3 separate regions of the Homo sapiens genome follow, and regions 2 and 3 are each linked to region 1. Evidence: promoter capture Hi-C in 16 types of primary human blood cells and fetal thymus (Javierre and others, 2016). All regions are on one chromosome and are shown on one strand. The core of a region is centred on a gene start or on the middle of the fragment in contact, and the rest is flanking DNA. Distances in the headings are between cores, read along the strand shown.

Evidence for each region. The method cuts DNA at HindIII sites, captures the fragments that hold promoters and counts their contacts. A CHiCAGO score of 5 or more calls a contact.
Region 2: a contact is called between a fragment that was not itself captured here and the fragment with the promoter of PUM2 in region 1, in 3 of 17 cell types (fetal thymus, non-activated CD4 T cells and total CD4 T cells). The highest score is 8.0, in fetal thymus.
Region 3: a fragment that was not itself captured here is called in contact with the fragment with the promoter of PUM2 in region 1 in 1 of 17 cell types (naive CD4 T cells); the score reaches 5.2 in naive CD4 T cells.

The regions. Positions count from the first base shown.
Region 1 is chr2:20,348,899-20,352,519 of GRCh38, reverse strand. It overlaps PUM2 (pumilio RNA binding family member 2), which reads left to right and starts at 1,676. Exons shown (of 21, transcript NM_015317.5): 1 at 1,676-1,923. RefSeq lists enhancers at 317-946, 1,154-1,243, 947-1,578, 1,579-2,208 and a silencer at 1,404-2,293. The HindIII fragment of the contact is 4,637 bases long and covers 1-2,393 here.
Region 2 is chr2:18,542,126-18,545,746 of GRCh38, reverse strand. No RefSeq gene overlaps it. Among named protein-coding and RNA genes, the nearest start is that of RDH14, 17 kb to the left of the region's middle. The HindIII fragment of the contact is 5,341 bases long and covers 1-3,621 here.
Region 3 is chr2:19,336,491-19,340,111 of GRCh38, reverse strand. No RefSeq gene overlaps it. Among named protein-coding and RNA genes, the nearest start is that of MIR4757, 10 kb to the left of the region's middle. The HindIII fragment of the contact is 986 bases long and covers 1,479-2,464 here.

The DNA of each region.
Region 1 (3,621 bases), core at 427-2,926:
AAAGGAGAAGGAAGGCAAAATGTGTACACCCCAGCATCTCCCATTCTTACTTGATCGTGAGACATTTCTTAAAGGAACATCTATTAACACTGAACACAGCACACTAGGGAAATGCTGTCGTGGGTGATGGGGAGCAATGAGATGGTTGAAGCAGAGGCCTGAGCGCCAGGAATTGGATTTGCATTTTAGATAGCAGTGAGCAGAACTGATTGGAGGGAGTGAGACTGGAGACAGGAAAGCTGATTAAGAGCCAGCTACAGAAATCCAGACCTGGGAAGCAAGGCTAGCATTAGTGAGGAGGCAGAGGAAGACTGTCTCCAGAATTACTTGGGAAGTAAAAATCTGCGAGGCTTGGTAAGTTATTTATATTTGGAGTCGGGGTAAGAGGAAGAGACAAGGATGGTTCTCAGAGGTGTAATTTGGGGAATGAATAGGTGGTGACACTGCCAATTACAGAGACAGTACAAGAGTGGGGGGTAGGGGATGGGTGTGACTTCAGTTTTTAACATGCTTGGTGACAAGAAAATTCAAGTGAAAATATCTAGAAGCCTGAAATATGAGCCTAAGGTAGGGGCTTGGGATGGATTTCAATGTCAGACATTTTTCAGTAATAGTTAAAAACCGAAGAGCCCATGTGTATTCAACAGGCACTTGCGGGCACAGTGTGAAACAAAACACAAGGTCCTTGCCCTCGTGGAGCTCACAGTCGCCTAGGGAAGACATATATTAAGCAAACTATACGGGAGGCCCTGAATATTTACGAAGTGCAGCATGTCAGGAGAGCCAGGAGCTGTGCAAACAAACCATCAAGAACAAATCGGACACGGTGCCTGTTACAGCTGTGTGACCTGGAGCCGGTTAGGTTAGAATCCTGGAATCACCACTGCTTTGCATGGGGGTCCAGGACAGCAAGGCAGATTTGGAGTTTCCAACTAGCCTGTAAACGGGGAAGGAGAGAGCGCTTAGTACGCGAGAAAAAGAAACAGCCAACGAGTGAGAATCACTGGCCCAGCTGGAGAACGACCTGAGTTTCCTTTGTGTGCACCGGGACCAAGCACTGGGGGCCGACAATTTGCTGAGAGCTGGCTCCACCTGCCTGGGGTGCAACCACGAGAAGAGTGACAGCCCTCTCGCAGGGTACAATCTTCCACCCCCAGATGCATCTCCCTCGTCTGGTTGTGGGGAGGTACAGAGTGAAAGTTAAAGGCCTGAATTAACGTCCGGCTCTTGTGGGCGCCAGCACTCTGGAAGCGAAATGCCAGGAGTACCCCACGGTGGGCGGCGCGGGCGCAGACACCCGCACACCCAGTTGGGGGAAAACAGTGAGCAACCGGGTAGGAAGCCGAGGGTAAGAAGATTCAGAAGGCGAGGCCCCACGCGGGAAGACAGTCGAACACAGCGTTTGGCAACAGTACGCCTGCGCTCTCCGAGCCCGCCGCGGCGGAGCCCAGGAGGGAAGCGCGAGCCCGCAAGGTGAGGGCGGGGGAGGGCACGCCGGAGAGGCGGCCAAACACGTGAGAGCGCGGAGAACGTGCGCACGCGCAGGGCGCCCCCGGCCCGCGCGGCGGCAGCGCGGGAGCAGGGACGCAAGGCATTAAAAGGAGCCGCGCCTTGGTGAGCGCTCCCCCTCCCCTTTCTCCCGGGGTGCACTGCGCGCGCCCGGTGGGCGGGGGGGAGGGGAGGGCAGGCGGCGGTGGCAGCCATGTTGTTGTGAGTCTCTGTGTCTCACCCTCGGTACTTCGGTGGTTCGGAGGAGGAGGGGGAGGAGAAGGAGGAGGTGGGGTGGGGGGGGAGGGTGGTAGGTGGAGAAAGAAGACATTGCCGCCACCGAAGGCGGAGGAGGGGGAGGACCGCCAAGAGCGACGCCGCCGTGTGCCCAACGGTCGGTGTCCCCGGCTGAGGCAGCGCGGCCGCAGCAGCCCTGTAAGTCAGTCCGCGTTCGCTCTTTCTCCGGTCCTTTGGCGCCGTCGAGGATGGCTCCCCAGGCTTTGTGCGGCGGCCTCGGCGGGAGCCGATCGCCAGCGGGAGGGCGGATAGGGCCTGCTGAGTGCCCGGGCCGGTGCGGCCTGGGGCCCGCTCGCACAATGCAGGGGGAGGGGTGCCGGAAGGGGGTGTGCGCGTGCGGGGGAGGGGGCGCCGCGCCGGCCGCTTTCCCGCTTCCTTCCCTCTGCGGGGCCGCCGCCTCGGGGGCGTGGGGCGCCGACCCGGTTCTCCCTCCGATTCGGCGCGCTGGAGGTTAGAGACCGAGCTGTCGGCCCTAGGGTTCGGAAAGAGGGGAGAGGCCGGGTGGCCCCAGAGAAGCATGCGGATTGCAAGTGGGTGAAGAGGAAGGAGTGGGTTTATGAAAACAAGTGTGGGCATTTTCAAAGGCCCGAGTGTGTCCGGGAAAAGCTTGCCGTGGACAGATGTGGGTATGAAGCAGTGACTTGGATTCGCCTTGTTTAGGTTATAGGAACGGATTTCGATATTCAGAAAAATATGTAAATTAAAACCAAAGACAAGATTAGCGGCTTCTACTATTTGAGCAGTAGTTTTGTATCTGAATTGGGTCAGGTTTTGGGGAAAATGTTTAAAGTTTCATGCCCAAACACGTGTAAAAGTTAGTGTTGTTTCTGAAAACACAGCCAGAGAAAACCTACTTAACTTAGCTTTTTATTCTAACATACGTAAACTTTTGAAGAGAGGAATGTATTGCCAGCATATTAGGTGCAATAAGACATCATGTTAGGACTTAGTACTTTGAGATTTTTACTTGTTGAGAAAACGGGGCAGATGTTTTGGTGAAGGAAAACATGAGAAAAATGCTTGTAAACGGTGAAGAGAAATGTAATACCTGTAAAGGTACTGTATGTCAAGAAAACAATTTTAATAAAGGGAGTTACCGAAGGATTTTAAAAGCTTGTTTAATGGTTAGATTTCGTGTTTAACAGGTGACTCTTCACCATGTGACCTGGAGTATTGGAAGATGACTTAAGGAATCCTGTAAATAAAAAAAAAAAAACAAAAATGAGTATTTTCAACTTGTTTCTCTTCCTAGCCTCCTTTTAAACAATGATTTACTTCATTTGCTCAATCATTATGAATAAAAATGATGGCATTTTCCGTGCTGCAAGAATTTCTTTAAAATTCCGATTTTTGGTGAAATTGCATTGTGTAGAATTTTCTTGGTGTGCATGAGGGCAGTTTTTGTATGCAGAAAAGGTTTACGATAATCTTAAAAATAAAATTTTATTTCAGAAACCTGGTTCTTGAGGATTTAAGTCCAGTTTTTAAATTTTGTTTACAGGTCTAGCTATTTTGAGTTATAATTGCCAGTAACTTACGCATTTTCCAGCAATTTAAGCTGTGTTTAACACATGCTTTCCTTAATTTGAGTCCAAAGTTCTCTTAGGTGTTTCAGCATTTAGCAAGATTTCAACTTTTTAAAAGAGCCTAAATTAATTACTGACATTTACTTTGCTCTTACAAAGCTGTCACTTTAGAATAAATTCTCAGGCATTACAAATACTGTATATAAATTACCAAATAATACTTGGATTTTGTTTCTCTCAAGCATTCCATACTTGTTTATGAATCTTTTTTTCTTGTTTGAGACAGGGTCTGGTTCTGTCGCCCAGACTG
Region 2 (3,621 bases), core at 589-3,088, 1.8 Mb after region 1:
CTTTTTACCTATAGTTTTTGGCTATTTTCTGCTGGCAAGAAAGGCCATAGAAACAGAGTCAATTTTGTTTCGTTTTGTTTTCTTTGATAACAAGAGGCAATTGGGGCCGATTCTACAATGATTCCATGTTGACTCACCTCCTGATGGGTGTTGAGAGGAGGTTGCAGTCATGATGGTATCTTGATTCCAGTTCGCTGATGTTTAGATCCTAGTATGACACACATGATGCCATGTGTTTTAACTTTTATTTCCATTGGCAGTCTTTAGGTCTTACAACTTCCTGAAGGTGCAGATTTGGGCAGAAGTAGTACCTTCCCCTCGCAGGTCAGTTCTTGTGTATTCTTGGAGTCATTTCTATTTCTAGAACCTATGTCATTCTTCCAGGCCTTTCCATTATTTTATACATACCTACTTTAATGTTTTCTGTTCCTCCTTAAAATATCTGGGATGGATTCTGTTTCATATAACAAATATAATCTACCAGGATTGCTGACCAGAAAGGAAAAACATAAGTTGGTAATTAAAATCACTTTGCAAATGACCAAGCCATGGCATATATAGAAGGCACAAAGAAATTCGGTATTACTACTTGAAGGGCTGGGGGTGGGTTGGGGGAAGAGAGGCAATCAGTATGACATTTCTTTAATCACAATTGTACAATGTTGAAGCCTTAGCTTAGTAGCCTCAGATATTTGAATTTGTCAAAATATCTGTCAATAATGAGAAACCAACAAAAGAACAGGAAACTTTTCTTTGGGTAGCAAAATGTATCCCAATAAAGAAAATCCATTTGGGAAGCCAACTTATACTCAGAATCTTAATTAGTTCTTCTAGAATCAGAGCACAGGAAGTGACTTCTGAGACTGAATGTTTAGTGGCATTAGCAGTAATATCTGCATTAGGCCCATCCTTAAGCAGGAGATTTATGCTCTGGATGTGTCTCTTTAAGTGGGCCTTGTAATTATGTGTTCTGTTTTGCTGACTTTACTGCATCTGAGTGACATTTTTTTAAAAAAATATGTGTTTATCATTTAAATGTTTCTAGTCTAGCTGAGGAAACATTTTGTCTCTGCTGTATGACAGAGAAGTAGAAGGGGCCAAGTGAACCAGCCACATTCAAAGACACAGGTAAGGTAGAGGAAGATATTATTCTTCCTCTTCCAGTTGGAGACACTGACAGTTGAGAAAAATCTATATCAGGATATAGATATTCCTATATGAGAAATATGAGACTTCATTTCCTAATATGAGATTTCTGGTGAATAGATTAATTCATCACAGCTGTTTTCCATTTAGGAAAAATGTAATTAATACGAGGCTTCCTTCAGCAGCCAATGTGATTAGGACTGTAGAATGACTCGTGATGGATAATCCTGCATAAGTGTTTTGGGTAGTGTGAATGGATTAGAAAGACATTCATGACCGAATCCTTGGTTACCTTAGGAATATTTATTCCTGTGTTTATGCTGCAAAACAAGTCAGAGAAGTAGAGATAGGAAGGGACTCAAAGGTTAGTTGTGAGTGGCCAAGCACTAAACTGTGAGTACACTGAAAGCAGGAATCTGTTTGCACCTTTTCTGCATCCTGCTAACATCTGGAATGGGGCTATATCAATCACTCACAAAATATTAGGTTGACAAATTAATTAGTTAATTAATGACCTGAAAGCTCAGGTGTCTACCACATTACTGATGGTCAGGGTAGATGGGGCTGATTTGGCTGTCCTGGTAGATGGTCTCTCACTATACCCTAGGAAATGAGTTCCATCTTTATTGAAGAAAAGAGAGCTCTTCTGGCTTGTGAAGCCAATGCTGGATTCTTCTTTAACACTCGTATTGAACAGTCAAAACAGTAAGCATGAAAATGCCGTTAAGTAAGTGTGGCATTATTTTTGACAATGATAGTCAATGGTAATTGGGAATTAGTACAAGGAAAACTAGAATGTCTACAAAGAAAGCATACAGACAATCATAATCATCATCATCATCATCCTGCCACAAATTCCCCTGGAAATTTCTGTATAGTTCAGTCAAATTATTGACTCCATCTTCTAGTTCTTTCTGCAGATGCCTGTGTATTTTAGTAAGCAGCCTGTCTTCAGTTGACAGATGTGACTTGCTAAAGCCAACACAATTAATTTTGCCATATTTAGTATTAATTTACTCCAGCTGTTAATTAATTTTCAAATAAGTTTACACGTAGGAAAAAAACTAAAGAAGACTTATTTTCTTTTTAAAATAGTGCCACATTCTTGCAAATCCCTAAGACCATGGCTCATCAGTTAATAGAATAAAATAGGACATGTGATTAAACTCATTAGGGAAAATTCTTTCCAGAATAAAAACTACTATTTATTTGAGATAGTTTACATATATTATCTCTAATTCTTGTAACAACATTGTAAACTATTCTTATTCCTAATTTATAGATAAGGAAACAAGGCTTCAGAAAACTCAAGTGACTCATCTGCAGCCACGATTTGGACCAAAATCTTTAGAGTTTAGAACCTTTGGCTTTTTTACTCAACCAGCAGATCCTTCTTTTAGTGAACTAAAATGATGTACTTAGAAAAAGTTAAAATTTCCTCTGAAATCAAAACAATCTTAGATATTTAACTCTCGTATATGGTTATTATTCAAAATTTTTCTCTTTCATATATTCATTTTCTAGAGTGGACGTTATTTTAAACAAGATTATTTCTGCCTGATAGGTCAAGAATGCATTAAAAAAAAATTCAATGACTACTATATTTAGTTTCTCTGTCAACACAAGTTAATTGAAAAGGTTTCTGCATAATATCCCCAAGTGTAAATTATTTATCAGGGTGGTTAAATAACCCAGTGCCACTCTAGAGTGTTGGTTTCCTGCCAGAGGGATATATATCATCTTTCAGGGGTTTGGAGAAATTGCACAAACAATGAACATGTCTGAGTTAAATCACAATATGGTGATCAAAAGAACCATATTACAGTACCATATAGTAAATGCAACTATTTCTTTTGAAATGCAACCGTTTTAACTCTTCAACATCTGCTGAGAATTCAGTGATTAGACATAACTCTGAAAACCCACTAAAGACTCCAGATATTTAGTATAGCTTTCCCACTATACAACCAATAACACACTTGACATAGCAATATTATTTCATAAAAACTGTCTGAATAAAATTAGAGTTCACAGAGAAAATATTGTATTTTCCTTTTCAAAAACATTATTTAAGGGAATGTCAGCTTATAGACATGATGGGCTAAATTACTTTGACCAATTTTTATTCCAGAACAACTAGAAATTCTGGATGAAATTTAAATAGATTAGATAGATAGATAGATAGATAGATAGATAGATAGATAGATAGATACATAGATACATAGATACATAGATACATAGATAGATACATAGATAGATATCCATATGTCTACTTTTTTTCTTAAAAACATCATAATGCTACAAGCTGGTGAAAAATTTTTAGGTCAAAATCAAGCCAACATGAAGGTGAGAACCCTACCTAAAAGTTAAGAGAGAACGCAAAATCACTTTTACCCAGAGGGTATTTGTCTTCCTAGAAGAAACGACAATGAATGTGAACGTTTGTTTTGACTGCCTAGCACCTCAAGGACAACA
Region 3 (3,621 bases), core at 722-3,221, 1.0 Mb after region 1:
CGTTTAGGAATATGCTGAAGTGTGTGGATATTCTGACTTGATCCAGAAACAGAATAAAACCAAATCAACTGCTTTCAAAGTAAGAACAATTGCAAAAACAAAAATTTTGAAATACTGAACATAAAGGTTTGAATTGTAAATATTTGTTTCTAGAGAAACAAAAGAAATTGCACTCATTTCTAATTTCAGGGGAAGAGAGCTCAGTGGTAGTTAGGCCACACCGACCTTGTTGGTGTGTTAAAATGGGAATTTTCACATAAGGTTATCTGTATGAGACAAGGAACCCTGTACCACCCCCGTGGTGGGCAGGAACTCTCCTTCCATCTGTAGACTGGTTCTTAGATGTGGCTCAGAACTGACACACACACACAATCCCCGCAGATTTTGTCTTCTATTCATAATCATCAGAGTTTGAAATTAGGGAGTGAGCCAAAACTAAGTATTACAGGTATTTTAGCTGTGGTTGTTAGGTCCTCTCACAATTAGTTGCTAAATATATTTTTGACTGACAGGAAAAAATGTAAAATGTCTAGAGTTTTCTTTGAATCTCTAATATCGACTTATTTCCCTGCTATATAAATTATTCTGAGCAGCATAATGTGTACAGGCCAGAAAGGCATGGCGCCTGAATATCAGTGACCAAGAAAGAATCTTCAGAGCTGCTAATATAACCTCTGAGGAGCCCAGGGGAAAAAATCCATTCTGCCCTTTTCAGTTTGTTGGTTTTATTATTTTTCACTAAGAATGATTGTCCTAGGCCTACCTGACTGACACCAGGTCCATCGAGGTGCTTGGAACACCGCCGCCCCCCCCCAACCCACCCTCCTGCAGACACATAGCAAAGAGAGATGGGTGCACAGCTGGCTTTGGCTTGGTGCCTCCTTTGGCCCTAGGGGTCCACTTACCCCTGGCATAGGAGGCATGCATCTGCATCTGGATCATGAACAAAACTGTCTCACCTTGATTTCAGAAATACGTGCGAGAGTTTCACCCTTTGAGAACCAACCACCCACCTCTCACTTGAGCTCTCCTTAGCTGCTTTCCAAGGAGCCTAGAGTCCCTCACTTTCTCATGAGAATCCTTCCTTCCTTCCTTAGTAAGAGATGATGTTTATTATAGAATGCAGACCTATGGGGAGGGGATATTCTATATAGCTACCATTTGTTGAATCCTTACCATATCTGAAACATTGTGCCAAGAGATTTGCAATCACAAATATTCCCATTTTTTTAAATGAGGAAACTGAGGCTCAGAAGTACATTTTTGTACAAGATAACAAAGTTAGTAAATCATAGAACCAGCCTTCAAATCCAGATTCTTCAGACTCCAAAATCCATGGGCTCCCAGGACCCTGTACTGCCTCCCTGTAACTGAGATTCATTGAGGGGAGGCCCTGGCCTGACAAATGAGGAGTGCTGGGCTCTGACCTCCTGCTGGTGAGGAAGAAAGCAGCTAAGAGGTCCTGGGCTGAGAAAGCTTTGCCTCACCAGGTGCTCTGAGTGCTGGCACAGGAAGGATGAAAGCGGAAGTCCAAGCACAAAGTGGAAGTCTTCCTCCTGCTTCACAGGGTAGCCTTCCGGGGTGTCTCATTCAGGAGGGAGCCCATCCTGGGAGAAGGAAGAGAGCAGAAATGTGGCCAACCCCTGCCTGCACTAGGGACCTCATGCTTGTCTTTCTTCAGAAGAGGATGATGCTTGTTTGAGAGGGTGGCATAGTGTTTATGATGTTATACTGCATTTCTGTTCCTTTCACTAGCTGGAGTATGAGCTTGTGAACCTGAAAAATGTTGGAGCACCTCAGCTGGGAATGTCAAGGGCTAACAGAGGTGGCAGTGAGGCCTCAGATGGGTTTCAGGTTGCCGTCTTGATGGGACATGGCTTAGACTTTCCATTGCCCTTCAGAGTTTCTTCTTTAGCCAGGTTCCTTATACTAATGATCCGTATGATCAGTATGGCTGAAATATAGCTGAAGAAGGCAGTCAGCATATAGTGTCACCCAGACCAGACTTTTTCAGGATGCAGCCTGAAACTTTTTTACCTTCTCAGTCTGGTCCAGGGACTTCTCCAATGTACTTCTATAAAAGCTGTGACTTAACATTTCTGATGCTATATTACAAATATCTGCTTATAGACTGCAGGCTCCTTGAGGACATGAGCCAATTCTGCTTATCTCAGCATTCCCTGTGCCTTTTGTGGCACCTGAGCTTGAGAAGGTGTTCCTAGCTAAGCCGGACTTTGGAGGAGAACAGCCTTGGTCCAATTACAGAAATGAGGAAACTTCAAGGTAAAGAGGGGTGACTGGTTAATTGTGCTCCTGGGAAAAACATGCTTCTGATCATTAGGTTGAGAATGAGAACTGTGTGTTTAAAACTGGAGTAAAAAGAACAATCTACTGGTAGCCCTGACGGCAGCCAGCATGAAGGGGCTGCCCAGAAGGGACATTTTTGGAAGTGCGAACAAAAGCTTTGCTCTAGGACATCCTAGATTGCTTTTCCAAATAATTATAAGATGCGATGAAGGCTGCACCTTTTATTTCCATTTTATTCTGTTTAGGATGAAACATTTTAAATAAAAGTCCTGAAAATTTAGAAGGCAAATAAAGCAATCCTGCTAGTTTAATGAAGTCAAAGCTGTAAATGCAGCTTTTATGGAGTGTCAACCACTCCCTGAGGAACCTGGTAGCTAGAGGGAAAGGAGGGGGAGGGGCATCCTTTGACTCATCCCAAGGGGCCAGAACCTTTTTTCACTTTTCTGTAGCAAGTAGGGCTTCTAGAGAGGAGAGCTCTGCTAGTAAGGAATGATCCAGGGCCCTCTGGCCTGTGAATTTTTCCTTCAAGTGGCCTTACTTTCTTTCTGCATGATGAGACTGGAGGCATGGCATGGCTCTTTGAAAACCACCATCCCTTTGGGTTGGTGACCTTCTCCCTCTGGTACCTGTGTGCCAAGGGGGTGTATGGAAGACAGGCTTCTGTCCAGTGCCCTCTGTGGTATGTGGCCTATCTACAGCACTAGTCAGAATGCAATGGATAGAGGGCCACTCTGTACCCTGGGGTGTTCTTTCAGTAATCCTCTCATCACAGTCACCTCCAAAGGCTGCTCGCCCTGACAGTGGGGATGTGATGGGCAGGCTGTCAAATAGATTGTGAGTGCATTAGCAGGATTAGCAGTGAAGGCTAATATTGTAGCATTTCCAAAGTTCATTCACGGCAGCTGCTTGGCTGCCAAATTGGGCAGGCGCAGGCTTCAGAATTAATGTCACATCTGGGATGGCCCTGATGTGGTCAGAGGCACAACAGTCCCATTGTGTTTGACTTGTGTTTATGTATTTTTATTCTATAACAGAGTTTAATTTGTAACATTAGTAGAAAGATACCGTCTAAGTGTTCTTTTCCATCTTATTGATGAACTAGCTGAAATACTTCTGCCACCCTTCAAAACCAGATGCTTTGTTTTTGGTAGTTCTTGGAGTATTGTTGATTTTATTTCTGCTAGTGAAAGTAATATACCTTCATTTGGAAAAATTTGATCAGAGAAGTACAAGGGAGCCATTTAAAATGCTCAGTCCTTTTACTATATAGATATTACCTCTGGTGCCATATGTATTTCCATGTGATTTTCCTAT